3 separate regions of the Homo sapiens genome follow, and all the other regions are linked to region 1. Evidence: promoter capture Hi-C in 16 types of primary human blood cells and fetal thymus (Javierre and others, 2016). All regions are on one chromosome and are shown on one strand. Each heading gives the region's core, a stretch centred on a gene start or on the middle of the fragment in contact. The rest is flanking DNA. Distances are from core to core; before and after follow the strand shown.

What was found. The method cuts DNA at HindIII sites, captures the fragments that hold promoters and counts their contacts. A CHiCAGO score of 5 or more calls a contact.
Region 2: a contact is called between the fragment with the promoter of PLS3 here and the fragment with the promoter of LRCH2 in region 1, in 2 of 17 cell types (endothelial precursors and fetal thymus). The highest score is 7.1, in endothelial precursors.
Region 3: a contact is called between a fragment that was not itself captured here and the fragment with the promoter of LRCH2 in region 1, in 3 of 17 cell types (fetal thymus, megakaryocytes and erythroblasts). The highest score is 5.7, in fetal thymus.

Annotation. Positions count from the first base shown.
Region 1 is chrX:115,231,932-115,236,357 of GRCh38, forward strand. LRCH2 (leucine rich repeats and calponin homology domain containing 2) reads right to left here and starts at 2,165. Exons shown (of 21, transcript NM_020871.4): 1 at 1,762-2,165. The coding sequence starts at 2,110. The HindIII fragment of the contact is 1,961 bases long and covers 586-2,546 here.
Region 2 is chrX:115,558,473-115,562,936 of GRCh38, forward strand. PLS3 (plastin 3) reads left to right here and starts at 2,702. Exons shown (of 16, transcript NM_005032.7): 1 at 2,702-2,788. PLS3-AS1 (PLS3 antisense RNA 1) reads right to left here and starts at 4,259. Exons shown (of 3, transcript NR_110384.1): 1 at 4,154-4,259; 2 at 3,932-4,058. RefSeq lists an enhancer at 3,476-4,251. The HindIII fragment of the contact is 4,189 bases long and covers 878-4,464 here.
Region 3 is chrX:115,626,072-115,630,385 of GRCh38, forward strand. It overlaps PLS3 (plastin 3), which reads left to right. Exons shown (of 16, transcript NM_005032.7): 4 at 3,127-3,256; 5 at 3,764-3,896. Among named protein-coding and RNA genes, the nearest start is that of PLS3-AS1, 65 kb to the left of the region's middle. The HindIII fragment of the contact is 2,026 bases long and covers 1,775-3,800 here.

The DNA.
Region 1 (4,426 bases), core at 915-3,414:
ATTCTTGTGGACTAAGGGAGTTGGAGACAATTTCTTGGAAGAGCTGGGGCTTCAATAAAATTAAATAGACGGAGAAAAGAGGGAAATCCCAAGCATACAGATGATCTTGTACAAAGATGAGGCAGAAATGCACAAAATGTATTTGAGAGACAGAGAGTTGACCTAGTTGGAAGAGAGGATTCTATGTGGGAGCATTTTGGGGAATAAGGTTGCAACAATAAAGTGGAGCCCAACAATGAAAGTCCTGAATGCCAAGCTAGGATGCTTAAACTTTGTCCTGCAGGTAGAAGGATCCTTTATAGGTTAGAAAGAACAATAAGAAAAAAAAAAAAAAGAGGAAGAAGAAGAAAAGAAAAAAATCACTATAATGATGCAGTCTGAAACTGTTTTACTTGAAGCCTTTGAAGAACACACCAAGTTGCATAATATCTTGCTAACAGTCATGAATATGTGAACATATTATTTAGGAAATCTGTTCTGAGTGAAGGAGTAAATACTCCAACATGCTTTACAAAATATAAAATCAGTGGTCGATTACACATTCATAGTTCTTAGGATCATTGCTAAAAGAATCACTGGGTGGAAAGCTTCAATTTTAGGTTTTCCTCCTCTCCCCACTTTGTTCCAACACAAATACCTTGATTTAAGATCTAAAAACTGAATACATCTGAAATTGTCTTGTTTTGAAAATAAGTGGTATTTTACTACTCCTCATTATGGGTGAATTTACTTACTATATTGTTTCAAAATGACGACATCTATTAAAATAATTTTGTCCAGATTTATTTCAGCAAAGCAGATGAAAACAGAAATAAATAACAAATTTAAAGATTATAAAAAGTAAAAAAAAACCTTTCATCAAATCAAGACATATCTAAAATAATCCAGCATTGGTTTATAAGAGAGTGTGTCCCTAACAAAAAATGCCAGCCACAACAAAGACTACCAGAGAGTATATGAAGAACATTACAATAGCCAATTTCTCACCCAAAGTGATAAACCTTTAATCCACAACTCCATAAAGAATGGAGATAATTTTTTCTCAAAAATACCCTTAAAATTGTTGGCTTTCTACTATAAAAATTAAGACTCTAAGATAACTCAAAACAAGGATTAGCTTTCTTCTAGTAAGCAGACATGTAAGTGATTGATGATTTAATTTACCACTGCAGCAAATACTAATTTAACCACCACTACCTTCTCAACACCAGGAAAATGAAAAATCTCAGTCTTTAAAGGCATACGTGACAAGAAAGAAGCCAAGAATATCGTAGGATGATTAAACCACACAGAAAAACCATGGCAATCCTGCTGCTGTACTCTGAAAAAGGATATGCCATTCTTTCAGGCACGTATGCCTTTAAGGAATATGTAGAGATTATGATTTTTGTGTTTCGTTTAGTTTGGTTGGGTTTGGTTTTCCGGGAAAGACGGGAAGATCCAGGAGAGTTGAAAGAAGTGCATTAAGGAAGGTGTCAATGACTCCCTCCCACCCAAACTGGGGAAACTTGCTTTAACAATGATGCTCTTTCACCCCTAACATCCTACCAGTTTCTATACATCCTTCAGGCAGCATTCCTCCCCTCCCCTATTGCTTGATTCGCCCCTCACGTTCAGGAGAACGGGCTGCCCCGACTTTGTTAGTCTGGCGGTCCCCGCGCACCCGCCCAGACCCGCAGAGTCCAACAACGCAGCCACGCAGCCACCCACTCCCCGCACCTCCTCCTTCACAGCCAGCTTCCCCTCCCCCCGTCCTGTCACCTGCTTGGGTGGTGTCCGTCAGGTCGTAGCCGCTGCCCGGGAAGTCTCGGAGTTTCCGACCACTGAGGCTCAGGATGCCGGAGCTGCCCGCCTCTTCCAGGGCCCGGTCCAGGCTCCTCACGGTGTGCTGAGGCTGCAGGCTCCCCGGGTTCCACGGCGGCCCGTTGGGGAACGGCTGACCGAAAAGAGTCGGTACCGGGATGGGGACCACCAGGGTCCCGCCGCCGCCGCCGCCTCCCCCTCCAGCCCCGCCACCTCCCCCTCCAGCCGTGCCACAGCCACCGCTACTTCCACCTCCACCACAACCGCCGCCCCCACTGTTACCGCCTCCTCCCTGACTCGCCGCCATGTTCCTGGGAGAGAGAATAGCCCCCGACAATACTGTCAGCCTGTGCCGCGAGTGTAAGGGGTTCTTAGGACGCATGCGCAGACTGGGGGCGGGGGGTGGGGGGCGAGGTAGAGAGTGGGAAGGAACCAGGGGGCGGGCTGGGAGGAGGTGTTGGATAGAGAAAAGATGATGTTTGAAAGTGCAGAACGCTTGCTTTAAGAAATGTATGATAAGAAGGATGCTAAATCCCGGTTCTGCTGCTTTGGGTACCAAAGTCTTGCGAAACGACACCAGGCGAACTATAGGTCATCTGGGCTGTATGTCCCCAACTCTCTAAGTTGCTTCACTGTTTCCGTTCTGCAAAACAGAAACAAATATATGAGCTAGGGATGAAAGGGATTCGTTTCAGAATATACAGAAACAGCACTTAGAAGGGCTATGGGGCAGCTTATTGAGAAGCTTACTGCAAATGCCTCAGGAATCCTTTACCAGTGTTAGAGAAACGCTGGGGAGTCACTTGGGGAGGGAAATGAGTGCAGTGTTGAGTTTGGGGCATATATGAATTTCTCCATAGTTTAGAATTCTATAATAGGAAAAGATTTGTAAAATGTTTTCAAGGAAGCCTCTCGTTTCAATGTATGTAAGTCTCAGCCAGACTGTTGCCTTCCAAAACTTGGAAGAGTTATCCACATTCTGTTCTATCACTCTTTGAAGTTGTGCCAAGATCTCCAAAATACCTCTAGTTTCTTCTCATCGTGTCAGTACTGCCTGATGAAAATCTCTTTGATCATCAAACAATCTTAAGTTATTTCTGAAATACAGGTTTTGTTTTTAGATGGAATTCTGAAGATTTAACCCTGGGTATTATGAAGCCAATCGATCTTGAATTTTAGGAGTTCATTCTCAGAACCTGAAGATATTTTTAATGTAGAAGACATAGAGAAGAAAGTTCAAAGTCCTTTATCTGGCATTCCAGGCCTCCATAATTTAACCCCAGACTATCTAGCCGAGTTTATCACCCAACCATTTAGGCCACTGCCATCCCTTTACCCACTACCCTCTCCACTCTCAATCATAGTCATTCAAATCTTTTTCTCTAGTATTCAGTAAAGTTGATGAAGAAAACTATCAGAATGCTTGGACATATTCACTTATCATTGAGTATCCTATGTATCTCTTTTACACCTATTTCAATTTGAGCAATGTGTCAACAGCCTCATTTTTTAAGAGAAATCTCCACTTCAAAAAAGTATATCTGCCATAGGCTCTACTTTATAAAAGATTACAGGAAAGAATTACAACTTGTCTAAATTGATTTGTGGCTATACTGGTTAACTAAAATGATTATGTCATGAGAAATTACATTCACCATATGCATGACCCAGAAGGAAGAAAACAGAGAATCAGACTCTGTATAGTGAATTAGCAAGTGAGATAAATTATTAAAACACACCGGTGTCAAAAAGGCATGTTGCACCTTATATCTCATCTTCCTTATATCTTAAATCAAATTATTAATTCATAATTCATAATTAATTGAGAACTTCAGAATTAAGATGAATGAGAAAGGACACTAAGTTCATTAGAGAAAAGATTAGGAAAGAAAATATTTTAATAATTAGCCAATGAGAATTTTTGCAATTATTTAAAACAATGTATTGGACTCCAGGAAAAATATGTCCTATCAGGATACCTGTCCAGTGAAAAAAGGCATGTACAGCCAAATTTAAGAAGGAAAATAATTTTTCAAAAAGTTGAAAGATAATCTAAGAAAATGGGACGCTTATTAAGTAAGCTATGTATACCTTAAAATCAGACAAAATAACATGTTGTAGAGCTCTTTGACAAGAACACCAAGGCCAAAAGATTTAGAAGAGAGGGCATAAAGTTTAGAAATTTATTCTGAACTTTTAACTCCCTGTGTAATACTTGGGAAAGTGGCTTAAAAGCTCAGTACTTCAGTGTCTTCATATGTAACAATGGAAAATAATAATAATAATAATATTTTTAAAGTGCTTGCTACTTGCCAGGGAGTGCTTTGTATATACTTACTTGTCTATCGATCCTCATAACAACCTTGTAAAGTAGGTACTATTATTCTTCCATTTTATAGATGAGGGAAAATAGTACATACCTACTATATGATTGTTGTAGGAATAAATAAAGTCATACATGTAAAGTGGCAGGCACATACCTGACATTCATTTATTCATTTAATAAGCATTTAAGGAGCAATTACTCTGTGCCAGAAACTCTCCATGCCAGTAATACTATAGCATTGGGCACTCAATAAGTGTTAATCTCTTTACTACACCTCTACTCCTTCAAAAACTAAAA
Region 2 (4,464 bases), core at 1,452-3,951, 330 kb after region 1:
GAAAGGTAAAAACTCTTAGGTTACTGATTCACAAGGTCTGTGAGAATCCTATATATATTAATAGCTTTTTGTTGCTGTTGTTTAACAAGAATAGACATAAAATAACCATTGGTTCAGCAAACATTTACTGAACTCCTATGTGTCAGGCACTATGCAAGTCACTGTCAAAATAAATTAAAGCCTATAAGCAGGTGGAGGGAACCCTGACAAACATCTGTGCAGGCTTTTTGATACAGATAAGAAAACAATCAACTTTGGGTTACTTCGTGAATGATCCTCTATGAGGTAAATTGATGGCATGAAAAATTATAAAGAAATGCTGTTTAAGAGCTTTGAGCCTGAGGATCCTTTCTTCCAGCAAAATGCTAAATTTGAAAAGATCCTTTAGATTCTGGGCAACACAAAGGTAGCTTAGTTACATCAAACTGGCTGGGTATCTTAATAGTATTCATTAAAATGGAGTTCTACCTGGATTATATAGTGGAGCTTGTTAAACAGGAATCTCAGCTAGCATCCAAATAGGTGCTTCTGTGTTTAGGGTGTGTTTTATCTGTTGGAAAGTTACTGAGGCAATGAGAACTAATGCCATCAGCTAGGTACACTGCAGCTTTGAAACTATGGACTATTGCATTTCAATTAAAATGACATTTCTTGACTGAATTCTGACATCCTCAGTGATAGTGGTGAATGAAGACTTTTATCAAAGTATAGATTCTATTAAGCTTTTAAAAAATTTTATTAATTTTTTTTGTAGAGATGAGGTCTTGCTATGTTGTCCAGGCTGGTCTTGAACTCCTGGCCTCATGCAATCCTCCCACTGCACAGCCTCCCAAAGTGCTGGATTACAGGCGTGAGCTACCCTACTCGGACCAATGTAAGCTTTTTTGAATTAAAAACAGGAACTGTAAATAGCATATACGTAGGATTCTTAATATTTTTACTTTAAATTCTAGAATTTGAAAAATAAACTAAAATTGAATACAACGTAATTGAGACAAATATATCTGCACTGGAAAATTTAGCTTACAGAGTCCCTTCATGCTATTGCTCAGTCTGTAATTTTAAGTTTAAGAGCAGGTGGAAGCTCTTCAGCGGTGACCGACAGACACCATAAAAGGTAGAAAACTGAAAAAGCCTATTTCCTGTATCTAAAAATTTTTTGTAAAGAATTCCAGAAGTCACACCAAACCTTTGGCCAATTACTGAATGCTAGAAATCTCATTTGGGAGCTTACTGTAAATGTGTGTGGCAATGCACTGGCTCCATGTTCAATCCAACGCCAACATGTTGAAATCAGTATTTTTGTGCTGGCCCAAACCTGAACCAGTAGAAAATCTCCCATAACAGAAATTCAATGTTTGTGAAAGCATGATTGCCCTCCCATTTCTTTTTCACCTTCCTGTGCCTTTCATAAGTTCTTCCAGTTGGTTAATCATTAATTAATATTTAACAAGGCTTTTTCCTCGTGCCAAGTCCTCTGCTAGTCTAGCCTTTAGGCAATATATGAACTCCCCAAGTTCTTCCCTTTTAAGAAGCCTTGGCACTCACTACGGATTAATTTCTCTAAGGAAATTCATAATGGCAGATGAAATAGGGGTTCCTTTTCAAGAACATTCCATTTTAAAGCCTCTCAGCATTTTTTCCTGGTACATGTAAAATGCGACTTAATTGAACTAATTTTAAATGTTGACAGAACTTTCCAAGCACACATTTCCTCAACAAAATGGTTACGACTGGAACAGGAAAGGGCTTAGACTTTTTCTTCTACAGCTATCCCACAAGTCAGTCTCTTGACCTGACCCTGCAAAATCCCTCAAACTCTGGCTCTCTGAGTTGATTTTGGATATACGATGAACCATAGGTTTGGAATGCAGATAACCTCCACGTGTATTAATGAAAGAGGTCAGCTATGACGTGGAAGCCATCTCCTGGGCAGAGAAGGAGAAGAAATGGCAGTCTGGGGAGTAGTAACATGTCTCCAAATTTTCTCTGGTGAAAGGAGACTGATGAGAATTGATACCCATTTCCGGTCAAAAGAGTGGAACCAATGTACTTCCAACCACCTCCTCTCAACCCCTCTCCGCATGGACAAACATACCAGACAGGTGATGTGGGCTAACAATTTACTTGGCATGAGGCCAAAGGCTTGAGGGCCCTGCCCTGCCCATATTCTTCTCCCTTGACTTCTTAAGGAAAGGAATGATTGCTGATGTTTCCCTCTGCACCCTTTGGCACCTGGACTGATTGTTGCAGATGTAATTAGGAATGTTCCCCAACATGCCGTTATTCTTCTCACGATTCTGGGAGAAACTGTACCCCTCCCCCATAGACTTATATAGGTGGCATTCAAATTCTTGTTCCCAACTTTTTCATCTTTTTATTAATCCCACAAGATTGTGTGAATGTGTACTCCGAGCCAGGCACGTTGGACTTCTAACTTCCTCTTAGCCCAAGTAGGAAGGGGAGACTCAGGCGCTGGGGACCATTCTCCTCTCCCTGCAGCAGAGTTGCAGTCCCTATCCCTCCTGGGTGCCCATCCCCGTGCCTATTTTCCTGGATCCCCACCCAGTTGATGTGACAGGCTCGTGGCCCAATCCCCTTCCTGGTTCCCAGGCCGACTGCTAGCACCACCCGAGCCAATGGCGGCGGCCGAGGGGCGGAGGGGGCTGGCAGGAGGGGAGGGAGCGCTGGCTTTAGAGCCACAGCTGCAAAGATTCCGAGGTGCAGAAGTTGTCTGAGTGGGTTGGTCGGCGGCAGTCGGGCCAGACCCAGGACTCTGCGACTTTACGTAAGTGCTTTGTAGGCGCCGGCGGGCACTAGGGGAGCGGGTTTCCTGGGCGTGGGCAGGAGTGGGTCCCGGGGAGAGCATCTCGGTTAAGCTCAGCAGGAACGTGCGGCGCACCGTGGGGCGGGGGTTGGGGGAGAGGGAGGTCGGAGAAATTTCAGTTGGAGCCCTCGGGCGCCCGGGCGATCGGTCGCAACCGAAATGGGTGTGAGTGACGGGGAGTTTCCCTACTAGCATCCGCCGCAGACACGTTTTCTGCACTTCACTGTATTAAGTGGTGTTTTCTTACTAGTTGCTCTTAACTTGTTGCCAGTCTTGGGCTGGAGTCCTAGACGCCAGCCCTTGCCCTGATTCCCCTCCGCGGCTGCGGCCCCGAAGTGGAAAGGGAGCGCACAACTTCCCTCTGTCGTCCTTCTCCAGCTACTGCCATCCCCTCTTCCCTCCCGCCCGGACTCAGGAAATCCCGGAGCCAGCAGCCTGCTACTCCTCCAGCCCCCACACGCCCGCCTCGGGTGACCTGGCTGGCTTAAGCCGACCCTGGGGCTCTGGAGAGGGGGGGCCGTGGCCGAGGGAAGGCACGAGGTTTGGGTTGCCTGCCTTCTGCCTGCTTCCCTCCCTTGTCCTTAGCGAGGGCGTCGCGAACGCACCTAGTCTCCCTATGAGTAAGCACTTTTTTTCCTTTCAGTAGGAGAACATCTCTGGGCTAGTAGGACAGTACCTTTCCGTTCTCCCCTGGCCCCACACCCCCTGTCCTTTTTTCAGCTCCTTTGACTTTGCGGCCCCGGGCGCGCGGTCGGGGCGGCGGCAGTCCCGGACCTCTCCCGACTCTTGGAGAGGGAGAGGCAAAGGGGCGACGGGAGGGAGGTAATAGTCTACCCCCCCGCCCTTTCCCCGCACAGCTGCACTTGCCTGTGTTTACTTTTCTCCACCCGCAGTACTTAAGCGCTGTAATGAGAGGCCCGGGGACGCCGACCACCCCCGCCCTGGCTTCTCGCCAGTCCCAAAGTTGCTGCCGCCGTCGCTGCTCCAGTGTGCTGGCGGTTCCGACCGCCGGGCTCCGGGACGTAAGATGATCCCAGCCCGGGAGGTGGAGTGGGGGTTAATGGCATCTGACTCTAGCCTTATGCGATGCTCCTTGCCTCTCACCTGAGCTGCACGATATCCCCAGTGGTGCAGAAGGTTGAACTTTTGCAGAAGGTTGAGCTTGGAGCTAAGTGGGTTGGAGAGCCTCGCCATTTAGCGTCAGACAGACGGGATGCTGGGGGCGCCCGGCCTGTTAAGAGGGATTGGGAGGAGGGAAGGGAGCCTGGCTAACAGTAGGTAGAAAATGTAGGGAAAAGTAAAAACCATTGAGGGGCAAGCACTTACTCCACTTTGCTGGATGTCACAATGGACTGGGGAGCCTAAACTTGATCCTCGAGATGCAGTTCATGGTGAATTCCAACTAAGTGGCTGGAGCCCCACACATACCAGTTGGAATCACGTGCCCCAAGTCTCTGATGGTCACATGACGTCTTTTTACTTTAAAGCTGGAATGTAATGGTTGAGGCCCATATTCCAAAAACCACCTCTACGTTTGAAAAAAAAAAAGGTGGGGAGGAGTGTGAACTAGCTTCTAATCAAGGAAGTCTACTAGGATTTTGGATGAGGGGACCAGAAAGGGAATTTGGTGCTCAGCT
Region 3 (4,314 bases), core at 1,538-4,037, 390 kb after region 1:
CTTTGAAAAGATTCATTGAGAAGACTCCAGCACAGTAGTCAGCCTTGTGCTATCTCTGATTTCAGAGATTTCTTGTCAAGCCAAAGCTTGTACTCAAATAGTTTTATCATCCACTTAAGCGATTTCTTTACTAAAGTAGAAAGTAAAATGCAAATTCTTGTGTAGTGAATCAATATCATAGACACAAATCTTCAGTTCTTTCTTATCATTTTTACTTTTTTTTTTTTTTTGAGACGGAGTTTCACTCTTGTTGCCTAGGCTAGAGTGCAGTGGCGTGATCTCGGCTCACTGCAACCTCTGCCTCCTGGGTTCAAGGGATTCTCCTGCCTCAGTCTCCAGAGTAGCTGGGATTACAGGCATGCGCCACCACGACCGGCTAATTTTGTGTTTTTAGTAGAGACAGAGTTTCTCCATGTTGGTCAGGCTGGTCTCGAACTCCCGACCTCAAACCATCCGCCCACCTTGGCCTCCCAAAGTGCTGGGATTACAGGTGTGAGCCACCATACCTGGCCCATTTTTACTTTTTTAAAACCAAGGGAATAGAGGAAAATACTATGAAACTAAAAGTTTAAGCTTAGCTGGAATAATTTATTTGAAACAATTTAGAAAATGAAGGTCATGTAACTTTTGCAAGACCTTTGAAAATTAACAAACTTAATTACAACTTTGCATTTCATTGCCAAGCATAAGAAGGAGTTTTACTAAAGCTATGTAAATAATTGCATTAGGATATATAGCAGAGACATTCTATATATATGTATATATATGTTTAATTTATTTTCCTTTTTTTTTTTCTGAGACAGGATCTTGCTCTGTTGCCCAGGCTGAAGTGCAGTGGCCCATCTTGGCTCACTGCAACCTCCATCTCCCGGGTTCAAGTGATTCTCATGCCTCAGCCTCCCAAGTAGCTGGGGTTACAGGCATGCACCACCACGCCCACCTAATTTTTGTATTTTTAGTAGAGACTGGGTTTCATCAAGTTGGCCAGGCTGGTCTTGAACTCCTCCTGACCTCAAGTGATCCACCCACTTTGGCCTCCCAAAGTGCTGGGATTACAGATGTGAGCCACCGTGCCCAGCCTACTTTTCTAGTTCTAGTTATTAGTTCGAATTCCCAGACGTTCTCTTTTTTAAATATGAATTAATCCTTTTTTCTGTGACATAAACAAATTTGGATTTATTTTTTAGCTGAAATCATGATCATTGAAACAACCTAAGTTTTAGAAGTAAATGATTCTTGAAGCAGAAGCACTCGTAATAAGAAAAATAACTTTACATATCTCATTCTGAAGCTGTAACACTTTTGTCATTGCAGGGACTTGTGGTATGTTAGGCATGAAGAAATGCACACCTTTCAGATTTTAACTTATTAGACAATGAAGTAGAGTTCAGAAAGAAGTAGACTAGTGACTATTGTCTTTTCACAGAGCAGCTGCGTTGTTATCAAAAGGAGAGCTATAGGATCAAAATGCATCACAGTTAAGGCACAGTTGGACTAAAAAATCAGATTGTAAATAAAAATATTTTAATCATTTGAAAACTGCCTGAAGTGTGTGCGTAAGCTCCATACTGTTGATACTTAGTGAAAGTCAGTATAATGGCCATAGAGCAGGAAGGGTGATTTCATTGGTTGTGTTTAGTATTTAGAGTAGTGTGTATGTGTGTGTCTGCATACATATACAAACATAGACACACACAGACATTTATTCTAAAATTCCACCTCCAAAATTACTGGTAAAGCTAGCACAGAATCACAGGTATGGAAATACTGAGTAAGCTTGATTTTGTAAAATTTAAGTGCTTACTAACTATTCTCTCAAACAAAATTTTATTTGTAAGTCCAAAGAAAGTTAGGATTTAATTTAAGAAAGGTAACAGGAAAAAATGACTAAGTAATAGGGCCACTGACAACACATACAGCAACTTTTCTACCAGTTACTAAAAGTCACTTTCTCTAGATGGATTAATTACAAAAAGGTACCCTCCTGGAAAGACAAAATACAACAAGGCACTCCTTTCGGTCTGACACAGTCCTGTGCGAGACACAAGGCTTGGTTAGTATAGCTTGGGCTGGATTTCTGCTTCTGCTCGTGCCTGCTCTGACACATACAACCTGAACTGTTATGTATATTGTAACCCTGTTCTATGAACCGCAGACATAGGCTGCATCTTCCTGAGATGTGTGTGTGAATACATATCTGTCACGAATGTTAAAGGTCTTTGAATTGCATTTGTTCAGCAACTTTTCCATTAAGTCTTAAGTTTTCTTTCAATGAATCCACTTAAATGGAATTCTAAACGCCATTTAAAGAAAGTTGTATACGGTTTCTACATCTTGCTCCTGTTTTACTGGCTTTGACTAATTTAGCCACGCACATTGGTGGATCAGGAACACATTTGGAATTAGGTACATTCCAATACCTCAGAAAAATATAGACAGATAGAATGTCCAATCAGATAGCTACACAGTACTAGGATGTGAAACTTACTGTGTTATAACTTGCTTTTGTACAATTAGAATGTTCCTTACTGTGAAGAGAAGCTGGACTTCATAAATGCCCCAATAAGACAATCACTGAAAAGCCTCTTTTTGGTGTTTATTCTTGATAGTCATCTATTACTACCAGCTTAACACATTTTTTAACTGCATTATTCTGTAACTTTTGATTTAATGAATTCTTAATGAGCTACCCCATTATACTGTAAAATAGTTTTTTGGTTAAATCATAAAATTTTATCTTTCTTTGCATTAAGAATTTTTATTAAAGTAGGGGGATTCTTCAATGTTTTCTCTCCAGGAAAAGAATAAAGCCTTCCTTGTTTGTAGAAAATTAACAGATTTACCTGTGCCTTTGAACCACATTAGTTTTTGGCTTAAAGTGAGTTCAATGCATGTAGCGCTTAATGTTTTTGACAAGTGTGTGCAATTGACATTCTGGTGCTTCATTTTCAGAAGGGGTATTGTAGTACTTGTTTAGCATTTCAAAAACTCAAGCCCAGTTTTTTGTATCTTTTAACATCAGCTATGGAAAAAATGTAAGTGATCAAGATATAAAAGAATATAAATATGCTTATTGTGCATAGTTTGAAATTAATTGTGAATCAACAAAATTACTTTAATTAATAGATTTTTCAAGAGGTAAAAAGTAGTGATATTGCCAAGACCTTCCGCAAAGCAATCAACAGGAAAGAAGGTATTTGTGCTCTGGGTGGAACTTCAGAGTTGTCCAGCGAAGGAACACAGCATTCTTACTCAGGTAATCATTTTATATGCAATAGGTTAACACAATGTGCTAAGTGGGATGGTTGCTGTAATGTCAAGGACGGGCTCTAGAAAAACATTACCTTCTAATTAAGAATACAGTAGAAGTCCTTTGTGACATGTATTTAGGCTTGAGACTAATACTTGTCATAAAGGCATTATAAGTGTTTATTGTATGGCTTTGTTAGCTTGCAAGAGACAGGATACAATCCATGTAATGACAGGCTTTATTACAGTGCATTATACAGTAATATAAATATAATTTTTAAGGAATTTTGTAACTTTTCTGAGGACTGGTTAACGTGTTCTATTCTTTTTCTTAATTTTGTAATTCCTAATAACCACTGTGTTGCATCCAAGTGTCTGGGTTTCCACACAGAATAACCACATGTTTCTGACACATTAACTTTCAGCACTACTGCACAACTATTTTAGGCTTTGGAGTCAAATATTTAATAAGTTAGAGTATGAACTAATGTCTTGTTATTTAACATAATTTTAGAGGAAGAAAAATATGCTTTTGTTAACTGGATAAACAAAGCTTTGGAAAATGATCCTGATTGTAGACATGTTATACCAATGAACCCTAACACCGATGACCTGTTCAAAGCTGTTGGTGATGGAATTGTGCTTTGGTAAGATGTTAGCTTGTTTTATATCCAGATATCCAAAAATAGCCTTCCATATAATTGATATATTTGTTTCTGCATGCTTGACAGGTTCACCTCAAGAAATAACTAGAATGGAAAATTATCCAGGTTCTGCCTTTTTCATTTAATCTCTAGGTCTGTCCATGAATCTAAAATTCAGCCATAAATCGACAACCTCTTTATAGGGAAGCTCTCAGCCTCCATTTTCTTCTCAACACCAGGCCAGCAGAACATTACAACTTTGTTGAACTTAAGTATGTCAGTGTCTCTTTATTCTAAAGTACCACAGCTTCCAAAAGAAAAAAAGAGGCTACTCTTCAGTTCTCACTCTCCAATGACCTATTTCTAAAAAATGCTTTTGTCACTGCTGCTGCCCCACAGCCAACAGCATCTTGGCAGACAT